5 separate regions of the Homo sapiens genome follow, and regions 1, 3, 4 and 5 are each linked to region 2. The links are contacts of gene promoters, found by promoter capture Hi-C in blood cells and fetal thymus (Javierre and others, 2016). All regions are on one chromosome and are shown on one strand. The core of a region is centred on a gene start or on the middle of the fragment in contact, and the rest is flanking DNA. Distances in the headings are between cores, read along the strand shown. Region 1 overlaps CNOT2 (CCR4-NOT transcription complex subunit 2). Region 2 holds the start of TBC1D15 (TBC1 domain family member 15). Region 3 overlaps KCNMB4 (potassium calcium-activated channel subfamily M regulatory beta subunit 4). Region 4 overlaps PRANCR (progenitor renewal associated non-coding RNA). Region 5 overlaps CNOT2 (CCR4-NOT transcription complex subunit 2).

Region 1 (2,700 bases), core at 198-2,697, 1.5 Mb after region 2:
CCGCGCACAGTGGCTCACGTCTGTAATCCCAGCACTTTGGGAGGCTTAGGTGGGCAGATCACGAGGTCAGGAGATCAAGACCATCTTTACCAATCAACATGGTGAAACCCCGTCTGTACTAAAAATACAAAAATTAGCTGGGCGTAGTGGTGCACGCCTGTAGTAGCAGCTACTCAGGAGGCTGAGGCAGGAGAATCGCTTGAACCTGGCAGGTGGAGGTTGCAGTGAGCCAAGATTGCACCACTGCACTCCAGCCCAGATGACAAAGCAAGACTCCGTCTAAAAAAAAAAAAAAAAGGAAAACACATAAAATTATTCTAACCTCATTAAAATCTGGGGAAAATAATGAACTTAAAACTCACACATCACTAGACTTGCATTTCACAAACCCAAAACCCTGACTCAAATATAAATCAACTGCCACCGAAAACTAGACAATGGTTCTGCTGTAGGAACATTTGAAAACTAGATAGCAGCTCACTTTAATCAAACTTTCAAAATACTGTATTAACTTCATGAGTTTTAAAATTTAAGAATGGTGACATAATTTCTTCATGATACTTCCCACCCAAGATCAAGAATAGAGATGCAGAATAGCTATGTATATTAGAAAAAAATGCAAACAACAAATACCTCTGCAACCCCAATAAGCAAGAGGCTCTAAAAGCCTCTTACCAATTCTACCATCTGAATTAGCACAAATTACTGCATAATCCAACTTAAAGAATTATGAAGCTTAATATGTATTATGTATTAAAGATTAAGGCAACAAGTGACATTAGCTACCATGGGTTAACATATTTTACCTTATCTGTCTGGTTTCAAACTGATTCCATGATGAGTATTTCCATTATTAAATTAAAATGAAAACCTAGACTATAATGACCAAATTTTAAGATGGAACACCAAGTATTTAAAATTTAAAGATATTACACTTAAATAAATTTAAAGATATTACAGACCTAACAGCAGAATTTATTGAAAGCCTAGTATGTGCTAAAATTAGAGATACAGCTAATTTTATTCTAATCTTTGTAATAATTCTGTAAAGCAGATATCATTATTTTCATTTTGTACCTGAAGAAAATGAGGCTTACAAGTAACTTGGACAAGTCATCAGTAAGCGGCACACCTAGCATTAGGATCCAGACCCATGTGACAAAAAGCCTCCATGTGACAAAAAGCCTGTGTCTTTTGTAGTGTAACACATTATTTTTAATATTTTTAGTCCAAGATCCAAAACAGATTCATTTACTTCATTACAAGGCAATCCAGAAATGCTGAAAGAATTCAGTCCCCTTCTCTCTTGGTATAAGGTGAAGAAAAAGGAAAAAAAAAATCAGTCCCCTGAGAGTTTATAAAGAAGGTACACCATGGTGACTTTAGCCTGAAAAGGTTGCCTTCATGTGACTGGTACAGTAATTAAGACACAGAGGTTATTTGCTTATCAGTAAAAATTAGCAAACACCAGAATCACCACCACAACCATGACATCCTGCCCTAATACACTGTGTAGCACTACTCCCCCTCTCCCAGCCCTAGCTAGGAATTAAAATAATTTTATTGCTTGGTTCAAGTTGACTATCTGAATTCGTGAAGAAAATTTGTTATCATTCTTCTGAAATTAAAATTGGCATTTTTGTTTTCAAAATGTGTAGTTACAGGGAAAAAAAGTCTAATTGTAACTTCCACAAAGTGGTAAGTTATACTGAGTAAGTTAACTAAAATTTTTCACATTGATGAACTACAATGTATGACTAGGAATTCAAACTAGATTAACTTTATCAATGTACATTTTCCCCCAGAAAAATATAGTTTAAACCTAAGCAGCGTAAATAATTTTGATATAGAGATTTAGAAATTTTGATATAGAGATCAGAGATTTAGAAATTACATAGGTAAAATTTTGCCTTCCACGTTTTAAAATCTTGTTTTCCACGTACTTTTATTCTTCTTAAAATACATAAGTTACTTTGATTACTGGTAACACCATTTACATGTTTGTTATATATACACACACATACTACACACATGCACAACCTCATACATTCTGTAGGAGCAAGTGTCTATCTACTTTGTATACTACTACCTACAACTTGGAATAGTGCCAAGCCCCTAATGGATGTGTAATTAATATATGATGAATAAACACAAGCTTTCTTCCTTTGTTTTAGGAACAAAACATTTAATTTTTCTAATATTATCAAATGATACATTAGAGGGTCTATGTATATATTTGCTTTTAGTGGAAAAAAAAGGATTTCTAGATTATAATATGATTGCAAAGGCTAGAAAGAGTTCCAAATACTTTTTAGACAACTTTTTCATACCTTAGTTCTTCTATTAATAAAATTAGGCTATGTATTCTCCAAAGGTTACTTGTTCAATTCAAGCAAAACTGAATGCAATGGATTCATATAGTCAAATAATATTACAAAAACATTAATGTAATCACTGATCTAGTTATGTAGAGAAACACACACTGCAGAGGTGTTTTCTCAAATTCTCATGAAATGTCAGCTTTCTCTTACCTACATGTTGAGTATCTCTTATCTGAGATTTTGCTTATTCTGGGAACAGAAGTGTTTGGATTTTGGAATATTTATACATATAAAATGAGGTATCTTGGGGATGGGACCCAAGTCTAACCATGAAATTCATTTATGTTTTATATATACCTTATTCACATACCCTGAGGGT
Region 2 (2,700 bases), core at 2-2,501:
GGTACAAGTGTGTAATTTTATGTTTTTTTAAAAAAAAATTTATATAACCCTAACAACTCCAATACAAGAAATAATGATTGGCATCTCCTCCATTCTACAGATAAAGAACGCGAAAAGACAAAAGTCACAATTGCCCAATTTTCCAAGGTCATACTTCAGATTAACAGCAAAACCAAGCCCATATTTGTCATTCAGCCGCCTAGTCTAATACTCCAAACACCAAACCACAAACGCTGTCAAATAATTCAAAATGGGGTAGGGAAAGCAACAGGGAGACATGAGTGAAACTCAAGGAACAGAGGACGCTATCTGCAATGAGTAAACAACCATTAGTGTTCGATGAGTCACTTCAGTTGATTCCAGCTGTTTATGAAATACTCCTGCACTGGGAAATACTATCGGTGGCATATCATAAAGCTGATAGCCCTAACTATGCATAAGATGTGCCCTCGGAACGCGAATAGGCACTATTCGACGAAATCTCCGCACGTAATTCTAGTTTCCAACGAAATTAGGCGTGTCACTGACCACCTCCGTAAACCAGCATGACCAATACTCCTACTGAAATGCCTAGGAAATAAATATTTGGACGCCTTCCTAGACAAGCACAGGATGGTGTAAATCTCCATTTCTCTCAGGAAACACGTCCTGCTGCTCACAACCACCAACCAACTCAGCAGCTTGGTAAAAACAGACCCAATACACTCGTTTCTTCTAAGCGCACAGCTAGCTGCCTAGCATCTATTCAGCTCCTCCCGAAGGAAGCATAAACATCTTCACCAAACTGTAGCAAAGAAGACAGAGGCAAGTCGGGTTAACGCTTCAAAGAGAGAAAAGACGCTGGAGTCAGAAGAGTAGACATAAAGAACTAGAGTCAAGAAACAGTGAATCGGGGGAAAAAAGGAACTAGAGAGCCACCTGTCCCTTAGTAAAGGTAATACGAATAAAAGCCTCTCTGCTCTGGGGCAGAAGAGCGCCGAGGCCTAGCTGGCCTTGGAGCAGTAGCCGGCTCTATAACTCCGCGGCTGAACTGGCATTCTCGGGAAACCAGCTGGTACCACCCAGTCTTCTCCTACAGACGCCACGGGTTGTCCGGACACAGAAAGTCCCTCGTGTCCCTCCCCCAACCAGCTGCCAGGGAGCAAAAGCATCCCCGTCCCAGAGAAAAGCCGAGGTCTTCCTGGAGGCCGTTACCTACCTTCCCGCTCACAACACCCGCCGCCGCCATGTTTCCTGCGCGTGCCTGGTAATGACGTAGCAGAACCTCACGTGTCTCTCGGACATACAACAACATCCGGCAAAACTAGAATAACATCCGGGCGGGAAAAGGGCGGGGAGTGGCGGGAAGGGAGTGGAGGAAAGGAGCCGGGCGGAAAAAAGCCGCCTGACGCGTGCGTGCTGAACTGGGCTCAGAGACGGCTGGGGTGGAGTCTCAGGCCTAACGCTACGCTTGTGCTTGCCCCACGTCCTCCCCAAGGAAGACTGCTAAAATAATGTGTACCTTACTTGTATTGGAGTTTGTCGAGACTCTGAAGCTAGCGCAGGCCACGCCAGTTTGGTGAGATGAAACGAATACCATACTGGAAGCCAGCAAGATTTGTCCTGGTTTTTTGTTGTTGTTGTAGAAAAGGAGTCTCGCTCTGTCGCTCAGGCTGGAGTGCAGTGGCGCGATCTCGGCTCATTGCAGCCTCCGCCACTCGGTTCAAGCGATTCTCAAGCCTCAGCCTCCCGGGTAGCTGGGATTACAGGCGCGCGTCAAACGCCCAGCTAATTTTTAAATTTTTATTAGAGACGAGATTTCGCCAATGTTGCCCAGGCTGGTCTCGAACTCCTGACTTCAGGTGATCCGTCCGCTTCAGCCTTTGCCCAGAGAGCTGGGATTACAGGCTTGAGCCACCGCGCCCAGCCCATTAGCCTGGTTTTGTGGCAGTAGGCAAATCACCAGTGCACTCGAAACCTCAGTTTCTTATAGTAAAATCAAGATAGTGGCGTTGCGGTGAAGATCCAAGAAAGAGCAGCACTAACATGGAGATATCCCAGGCACTATACATGGAGACTTTTCCCCTCTGTATATGAGGTTTCTCTATTTGTCTGGTCACTGCCACTCACACATGACCTCCAGCAAGGTATTTCGATAGGAACTGTGATAATACCACGCCCTCATAGCTGCAGAGCCCAAGGCACATAGTTTATAGCACCTACACATTACTTATTAGCTCTGTGACTTAAAGCAGGTTTCTAAATTTATCAGAGCTTCAGGATGTAAACTGGGAATTACTCCTGCATGGAGTGGTTGTAGGGATTTCATACGACAATACATGTGTGGTAAAATGATTTGTAAAGATACTAAGGTAAGAATTTTACTTGTTCTCAGTGCTGTAAAAGAATGCAGAGAATGATTATATACTACCCCCTTGATAACTCTGGCACAGATCTGGGATTTCCCTAGCTCCGGGGCAGAATAAAAAGTCCCTTTCACCAAAAACACTTGTGTCCATTGAGGTACTTCCGTCTTCACACAGTGGAGAGGGGTTAGAGGCTTTTGAGTTTGGTTGAGGTAGGTGGCAACTAGCTGAACGACAGAAAAGGAGAGTTGCCGGTTATGTGACTACCAGGAACCTAATAGGTGAGGAAAGTGGTGGAACCTTAGGTGGGAATGAATGCGTAGCATATTAGGGAGATTGCGTGCTAGGTATCTGA
Region 3 (2,700 bases), core at 83-2,582, 1.5 Mb after region 2:
AGTCATCACAATTCTGCTTAGCCTTTTATCATGTAGTTCTGATATGATGGATGTCTCTAGAGCGCAAAATGTATCAAACTGAATGTTCCAGGAAGGAGTTCAGAAACAATTCCAGGCAGGCCACACTGCCTCTCCTACAGTGCACTGGGACAGGGTACATGAGTGGATGTGGAGAGGGCCTAGGTGACTGTGAGCCACCACGCCCTGTAGTTAGGTACATCCAACTTCAGCAAACGTAATGCCTGAAGCCTTATTCAGTCCCACCTAAGTTTTTCTTCTCCTTAATGCATTTCTCTCACTTCTAGAGTACTGGTTTCTTAGAAGGAGCCTTTTATCCTTTGTTTCTAGGTTTTTATTATTAGAGGAAGGGGAAAAAAAAACTCAAAATAAAAATAAACATATAGACCGGGCGTGTTGGCTCACGCCTGTAATCCCAGCACTTTGGGAGGCTGAGGCAGGGGGATCACTTGAGGCCAGGAGTTGGAGACCCGCCTGGCCAACATAGTGAAACCCTGTCTCTACTAAATATACAAAAATTAGCTGGGTGTGGTAGCACATGCCCGTAAGCCCAGCTACTTGGGTGGCTGATGCAGGGGAATTGCTTGAACCCAGGAGGCGGAAGTTGCAGTGAGCTGAGATCATGCCACTGCACTCCAGCCTGGACAACAGAATGAGACTCAAAAATAAATAAATAAATAAATGAAATAACCATATTATCTCTAATCACTCACTCTGTCTTGTCTCACATACAAGAGGGCAGTTTTAAAAACTCACCTTTTTTTTTTTTTGGCCATCCAATGTATATAATTATGCAAATGCAAATGTCTGGAATCAAGTTCATTTCATTTAAACTTATTGGTTTTAAACTATTATTTACATAATAATTTTAAATAATACTCTCCCTTTCCTTCAGAATTTCCTTTTATACCGACTCCCTAAATTCAGTAGCACTGGCCGGGCGCGGTGGCTCATGCCTGTAATCCCAGCCCTTTGGGAGGCCAAGGCAGGGGTGGATCACGAGGTCAGGAGATCGAGACCATCCTGGCTAACATGGTGAAACCTCATCTCACTAAAAATAGAAAAAATTAGCCAGGCGTGGTGGTGGGCGCCTGTAGTCCCAGCTACTCGGGAGGCTGAGGCAGGAGAATGGCATGAACCAGGGAGGCGGAGCTTGCAGTGAGCCGAGATCATGCCAATGCACTCCAGCCTGGGCGACAGAGCGAGACTCTGTCTCAAAAAAAAAACAAAAAAACAAAAAAAAACAAAAAATTCAGTAGCACCAACAATATCTTTTAATCTGAAAACACAAATATTAATCACAATGACTCCTTTTTGGTTCTCAGGTTGTTTTTCTTGCACAGCAGATGAGAACATTTTCTAAGACAGTGGTTTTTGAATCTTGTCTTCACATTAGAATCATCACAGAACTTTTAAAAAACATCAATGCCCAGGCCCCACCCAAGACCAAATCAGAATCTTGGAGAGTTGGACCCAGCCATAAGAACTTCTTTTTAAAGTTCCCCTGGTGATTCTAAGGTACAGCCATAGGTGAGAACCAAAGCTCCTAGCATATACAACTGTGAGTCACCAAGAGATAGTGCAGTGACTGGAATAGTAGCAAGAGGAAGTTGACCCCGAATTTAGATTTTGCTATGGTTAATCCACAGAGATAATCTCCCTGTGGACAATTTGTTGCCTTGAATACTCTATTACAAGACTGGATATAGTGATTGCTTTAGACAATAAGGATATGATTCAAAATACAAATAAATTCAGTAGGAACTCAAGGTATTTTAAAGAAATTATTAGTCAAAGATCAAATTTACTCACAGTATCTTCTTCAGCAGCTTATGGCTTAAGAAATTCTGTATTTGCAATGTATTCTTTCCCTCTCCTGCCTCTTACTGTAATTAATGCAGGAAACTCAAGGGAGAGGAAAAAACTCCTTATTCTATTTTTTCTAAGAAGTGATTTCCTAAGTGGTTTCTTGTGTTGGTGGGTCATGAAGAAAAGCCTGGAGGCGGCTGGGATTCAAGACACTGTTGGGAATCTAGACATTCTACAAAGAAACAGAGGGGAAGCATAGGCCTTCAATAAAGAGGTAAAGTAAGGCAAAGAAAAGATCTAGGCAGCCAAGAGCCAACAGGAATGGACAATGGGTATTGCCTAATTGCAGGGACACTGTGGAAACACTCTGCTTATGTACATGACTCTGGCATAATATTTTTATTACATTGAATTTTTCCATCACACTGCCTATAAGAATTTCCAAATTGAGAATTTATTGGTCAAAAATAGAAAGGTGATGCTAAAGAACAAACTTACAGTCTATAAATGATACAACATAATTATAATCTGGATAAAGAGATATAAATTGGTTTGGCTGAGAAAACCTTGACTAAAATGAATAGGATGTTGTCCATGACTTCTGTAACATAAATATATTCTTCTCCAGTTCTGTCAGTTCCTGAATACTTTACTTTATAAAATGTATTTTGTTCAGGTACTTTTTCAAAACAACTGTTGCCAAGATCTGAACTGGCACTGGAAAAAAAATGATTATTTTCAGGGGAGAGAGAGATAAAGAAAAGAGAGAGGAGAAATTTTAGTATTACATAAAGCATTGGGATTGCTTCTAGGTAATTTAAAAATCAACGTCCCAATGATTTCAATTTACTTTTTCTGCCAGATACTTCAAAC
Region 4 (2,700 bases), core at 102-2,601, 1.6 Mb after region 2:
TTAACATTAATGTGTAAGTTTTTTGTTAAGCCTAAATCATCACTGGAAATAGAGCACAGATTTATTTGAATTTGAGATACCTATGTTGCTATGTGATAACTCAATTTTCCTAACAGTTTTCTCTTACGATTTTTTTGAAACCTTTATACCAGAAGCAAGCAATTACAGTATTTGACCTTTACCTGGCATAAATGGATCATTAATTAACTTACTCTTTACTGTAGTCCAGGGCAATTTTAAGTTAGATAGTCTGGCTCCAACTCCATTATAAGCAAACAAAAACATGGGCACTCAAGTCGAAGTATTTATTTATATAATGGTGTTTTTTTAATCCAAAACAGAGTTATGTTAACTTTTAGATTACCTTTGAAATAAAGCTACAAAACTAAAGATTTTTTGTGAGAACTCACAAATACTAAAGAATATGTTAGTGGGCCACTAGGGATTTAAGAAGCAAGATTATGAGCGTAAGGGTTTTGAATAGCTAAGATCTGCAATTTTATCTAACCGAAACACATGCAAGCTTCAGTGCCCTTTGAAAAAAATGCAGTATTTTAAAAATTACTTCTACAAACCTCAGTTTTGCTGCCTAAAATTCGAGCATAAAAATATGACTATGCCTTTCAGGATTGTCATAAAAATTTTATCGGATGGGCCAGGCGCGGTGGCTCACGCCTGTAATCTCAGCACTTTGGGAGGTCGGGGCGAGCAGATCACGAGGTCAGGAGATCGAGACCATCCTGGCTAATACGGTGAAACCCCATCTCTACTAAAAATACAAAAAACTTAGCCCGGCGTGGTGGTGGGCGCCTGTAGTCCCAGCTACTCGAGGCTAAGGCAGGAGAATGGCATGAACCCGGGAGGTGGAGCTTGCGGTGAGCCGAGATTGCGCCACTGCACTCCAGCATGGATGACAGAGCGAGACTCCATCTCAAAAAAAAAAAAAAATTTCATCAGACGACATATGCAAATGCTTAGTATAGTGTATGGAATGAACCAACCACTCAAATAGTTGCGATGATGATGATAATAGTTTTATGTGGAAAACCACACGTAATCTAAGAATTTTTAATAAAATTACTAATGAGGCACCTGAAAAGGAAAATGCAAGAAAATAATAGACTATATAGACAGCCATGTAAAAAAACAACAACAGAAATATAAATGTGCTAGCTAGTTGAGTTAAATATTTTCTGTTGAGAACTAAAATCAGGTAAGGTGGGGACGTAAAACATATCCCTAAATGATTACATTTTATAGCGTCAACTAGTGATCATGTTTTATTTTCCTGCCATAAAAATATGTTTTTAAGTCACTTTAAAAAATAAACATGTTAACTAATCTTGAGTTTATGTAATGGCATCCCTTTCACAATTACTAAGAGGGTTTTAAAAGACGCACCACTTTTTAAAGACATTGTTTAGAAGAAGATAGTTACCAGATATTTACAACAGTTCTTAAACAACCTTACATTTTTAATATGATGTCCAACTCTGAAGTAGTTAGAATTGATAGTGTTAATTAAGATTTTTAAAAACACTGCCTAATGTAGAGGTAAACACCATATTTTATAAAACACTTATTGTACTTCCTCAGTAAGAGTAAGATTAGTTTCCATTAGATTCTAGATTATAAAAGTTGCTACAGCTGCCATAACTTTGGTGAAGGTGATTCTGGAGGAATATTATCCCAAAACCTCTTCTTTTCCTTCTAATGAAGCAGCCTGCAATTAGGAAACAACTCTTCATAAGCATAACCCATATAAGCGAGCATGTAATAGTTAAATGGCAAAATCCAGAGAAACAGCCAATTGATCTTTTACAAACTCAGCAGCTGCCACTGAAGAAACAGGTGATAATGTAGCACAAAAAGATACCGTAAAACACAGGACTTCTAAATACTTAGTAAGGAAGACCTTTTTGAAAGCCTTATCCTGAAAACATCTCTTCTTGCTAAAAGCTAGGGAATCTTAGAATCTTATTAAAAACAACACCACTTACAATAGAGCAGAGGGAAGAGAAAATCTGTTTTGAATGAACCAACAACAACAGACATATTTATTATACTTTTTTTTAATTTATAAGAAAAAAAGATTTAATTGGATCACAGTTCTGCAGGCTGTACAGGAAGCATGGTACCAGAATCTGCCTGACTTCTAATGAGGGCTTCAGGAAGCTTACAATCATGGTGGAAGGTGAAGGGTGAGCAGGCATCTCAACATGGTGGAGTGGGAGCAAAAGAGAGCTATTACACTTCTTTAATTAAGTTAAAGAATTTACTTGGCTTTGCCTAGTTCCTTATAGAAACAAAAATTACAAAAAGGGAATGAAGGAGGGAGAGAGGAAGGAAAAAGGAAGGAAGAAAAAAAGGAAAAGGGAAAGGAAAAAGGAAAGGAAAAAGTAAAAGGAAAGGAAGGTTCTAAACTAGATTCCTCAGTACACTAGTTCCATAAGATACTGGTAAGTATTCTGTTAAAAAGCAAAGGATTTCATTGTAATGCTCTGAATTAAGAGGTTTCATTATTGCCAAATTTGTTTGTTACTTTTTTTTCTTCTTCTTTTTTTTTTTTTCCCCGTATGTTTTTGAGACAGGGTCTCACTCTGTCACCCAGGCTAGAGTACAGTGTGGCGCAATCAGAGCTCACTGCAGTCTCCAACTCCTGGGCTCAAGTGATCCACTCACCTCAGCCTTCAGAGCAGA
Region 5 (2,700 bases), core at 103-2,602, 1.6 Mb after region 2:
GGAATACCCCAAAGATTATCATGATATTTTACCCTAATGAAGCAGGAGTTAAGATGAAGTAAATTTCCTGCTATAGATACATAGAGAAAGCATCAGGACCTCAGCATGCAAAAATACTCAATTAACTGGCCTGCTCCGATGAACATAGCAGAATCTTTTTTTACCACTCCCACAATCTCTCCAAACTCCCCTCCCAAAGTCCAATAAGCCAGTTTTCTTTTTTTCTTCTTCTTCTTTTTTTTTTTTTTTTTTGAGATGCAGTCTTGCTCTGTCACCCAGGCTGGTGTACACTGGCATGATGTCAACTCACTGCAACCTCCGCCTCCCAGGTTCAAGCGATTCTCCTGCCACAGCCTCCCAAGCATCTCGGATTAGAGACACGTGCCACCATGCCTGGCTAATTTTTTGTATTTTTAGTAGAGACAGGGTTTTCCATGTTGGCCAGGCTGATCTTGAACTCCTAAAACTTACAATCCACCCGCCTCGGCCTCCCAAAGTGCTGGGATTACAGGCATGAGCTACTGCGCCTAGCCTAATAAACCAGATATCTATTTAAATAAAAATGCATAAAGGGCAAAGCACCCAAATGCAGCAGCATCACCAGGTAAAAATGAATGAATCATTCAATCATACAACTTAAGAAACTACAGTAGTTCTCCCCTTATCCGCGGTTTCTTCTTCTTCAGTTTCAGTTATTCATGGTGAACCGCAGTACAAAAATATTACATGGAAAATTCCAGAAATAAATAATTCATACGTTTTAAATTGGGCACCAGTCTGAGGAGTGTGATGAAATTTTCTGACATCCCGCTCCATCCCACCTGGGACATGATATCCTTGCTACATATGCTACCCACCCCTTATTCACATTAGTAACTATCTTGATTATCAGACTGACAGATCACAAGAAGTACAGTACAAGAGGTGTTTTGAGAGAGAGATCACATTCATTTAACTTTTTTATATTATATAATTGTTCTTTTTTTTTTTTTTTTGAGACAGAGTCTCGCTCTGTCCCCCAGGCTGGAGTGCAGTGGCGTGATCTCGGCTCACTGCAAACTCCACCTCCCGGGTTCAAGCGATTCTCCTGCCTCCGCCTCCTGAGTAGCTAGGACTACAGGCGCGTGCCACCACTCCCGGCTAATTTTTGTATTTTTTAGTAGAGGCGGGGTTTCATCGTGCTAGCCAGGATGGTCTCAATCTCCTGACCTCGTGATCTGCCCGCCTTGGTCTCCCAAAGTGTTGGGACTACAGGCGTGAGCCACTGCGCCTGGCCTATTTTATTATTAGCTATTGTTGCTCATCTCTTATTGTACCTAATGTGCAAGTTAAACTTTATCATAGGTATGTATGTATAGGGGGGAACAGTACATATAAGGTTCAGTGCTATCTGTAGTTTCAGGCATCCACTGGGGTCTCAGAACATATTTCCCCTTGAATTAAGGGGAAACTACTATACTAGTTTCACTACAGTAACTAATAATCAGGAATAATTATCATGATACTTTGACATGCTCTACAGTTAAACACTTTTTCTTTCATTATCTGAGTTGCCATCAGCAACACTGGGAGGTATAAATTATCAAACAGCTGAGGCTCTTCAATACTAATTGATTTGTCCAGGCACACAGCTAGTAAGTTTATAGAGCCCAGACTGGAACCCATCATCTGAATCAAAGTGTGAAGTCTTTCCAAAATAATATATTATCTCTTCATTAAAGATGAGCACGTACTCAATGGTACATTTCTCAACTTTCAAAAAAATAAATAAAAGGTGCTAAGTGTTTCTTCTGAACTTCCAGGATTTTTGCAATTTTTGCTCTAAATAAAGGAAATGGCATGGGAACCAACAACAGTAAATACCTACTTGTCAGGAGTTTTACAGGGTCATATTTAAACCTACTAAATACACTTAAGGGAAGAAAATATTTTATTAATTTTAAGGAAGAAAACAGGCACAGAAGAAAAAACTACTACAGGTAACTAACTCTGCACTATTCAGGTTGAAAAAGGTAGACACCAGTCTGTCTGAATCCTAACCCATTAGATTTATCCCACTTAACACAGGAATTATTAAATGCCTATTATGTGCCCTGTGCTTTGCCAAGTACTACAGACAGAGCAATATGACGATTTATTTATGTTACTCAAAATATTACACATCTTACTTCACAGAAGGTCATCTAAACAAAATTCCTGGTAGGAAAAACATGTTTAGACTCTAAGAGCAAGACTGCATTCTTGTTTACATTTACGAATCTGATACAAAAAAGAGTATAGTGCACTCTATGAAATAAATTGTGGCTAATTCTTGTATACCCCAGAAGCTCCTCTTTAACCTAACAAGTCCCACTCCAAAACGAACACGAACAAAAAACCCACAAAAAACTTTAATCCTTACATCAGTTCTACTGGGTAAGTATTGTTATTTATCTACATTTTTCTTTGTTTTTATTTATTTATTTTTATCTACATTTTTCAAATGAGAAAACTGAAGTATAGGGAGAATAAGTCACCTAGCCAATTGAAAACAGTACAACGGTGATTCCATTTCAGGCTGGTTAGTTCCAGGCATTATGAACATCATGTAAAATTTCAGAATATAACTCTCTTTAATAGCAGATAGATCAGCTCCATTTTACTCAGTCAAAAGTGAACTAAATAGACAATCAGGCTACGTGGGCAGCTCTAAATGCCATA

The links. Contacts are between HindIII fragments. The CHiCAGO score rates a contact against its expected background, and 5 or more counts as called.
Region 1: a contact is called between a fragment that was not itself captured here and the fragment with the promoter of TBC1D15 in region 2, in 1 of 17 cell types (non-activated CD4 T cells). The highest score is 5.1, in non-activated CD4 T cells.
Region 3: a fragment that was not itself captured here is called in contact with the fragment with the promoter of TBC1D15 in region 2 in 4 of 17 cell types (total CD4 T cells, total B cells, non-activated CD4 T cells and 1 more); the score reaches 6.0 in total CD4 T cells.
Region 4: a contact is called between a fragment that was not itself captured here and the fragment with the promoter of TBC1D15 in region 2, in 1 of 17 cell types (activated CD4 T cells). The highest score is 5.6, in activated CD4 T cells.
Region 5: a fragment that was not itself captured here is called in contact with the fragment with the promoter of TBC1D15 in region 2 in 1 of 17 cell types (naive CD8 T cells); the score reaches 6.8 in naive CD8 T cells.

Annotation. Positions count from the first base shown.
Region 1 is chr12:70,350,673-70,353,372 of GRCh38, reverse strand. All of the region lies in intron 15 of CNOT2 (CCR4-NOT transcription complex subunit 2), which reads right to left. Among named protein-coding and RNA genes, the nearest start is that of KCNMB4, 14 kb to the left of the region's middle. RefSeq lists a silencer at 1,138-1,338. The HindIII fragment of the contact is 1,420 bases long and covers 738-2,157 here.
Region 2 is chr12:71,838,310-71,841,009 of GRCh38, reverse strand. It overlaps TBC1D15 (TBC1 domain family member 15), which reads right to left and starts at 1,251. Exons shown (of 17, transcript NM_001146213.3): 1 at 1,199-1,251. The coding sequence starts at 1,228. The HindIII fragment of the contact is 6,842 bases long and covers 1-2,700 here.
Region 3 is chr12:70,368,860-70,371,559 of GRCh38, reverse strand. All of the region lies in intron 1 of KCNMB4 (potassium calcium-activated channel subfamily M regulatory beta subunit 4), which reads right to left. Among named protein-coding and RNA genes, the nearest start is that of KCNMB4, 3.9 kb to the right of the region's middle. RefSeq lists a silencer at 1,515-1,715. The HindIII fragment of the contact is 5,253 bases long and covers 1-2,700 here.
Region 4 is chr12:70,231,071-70,233,770 of GRCh38, reverse strand. All of the region lies in intron 3 of PRANCR (progenitor renewal associated non-coding RNA), which reads left to right. Among named protein-coding and RNA genes, the nearest start is that of PRANCR, 11 kb to the left of the region's middle. The HindIII fragment of the contact is 1,652 bases long and covers 526-2,177 here.
Region 5 is chr12:70,252,533-70,255,232 of GRCh38, reverse strand. The region is part of intron 1 of CNOT2 (CCR4-NOT transcription complex subunit 2); the gene reads right to left. Among named protein-coding and RNA genes, the nearest start is that of CNOT2, 10 kb to the right of the region's middle. The HindIII fragment of the contact is 4,496 bases long and covers 1-2,700 here.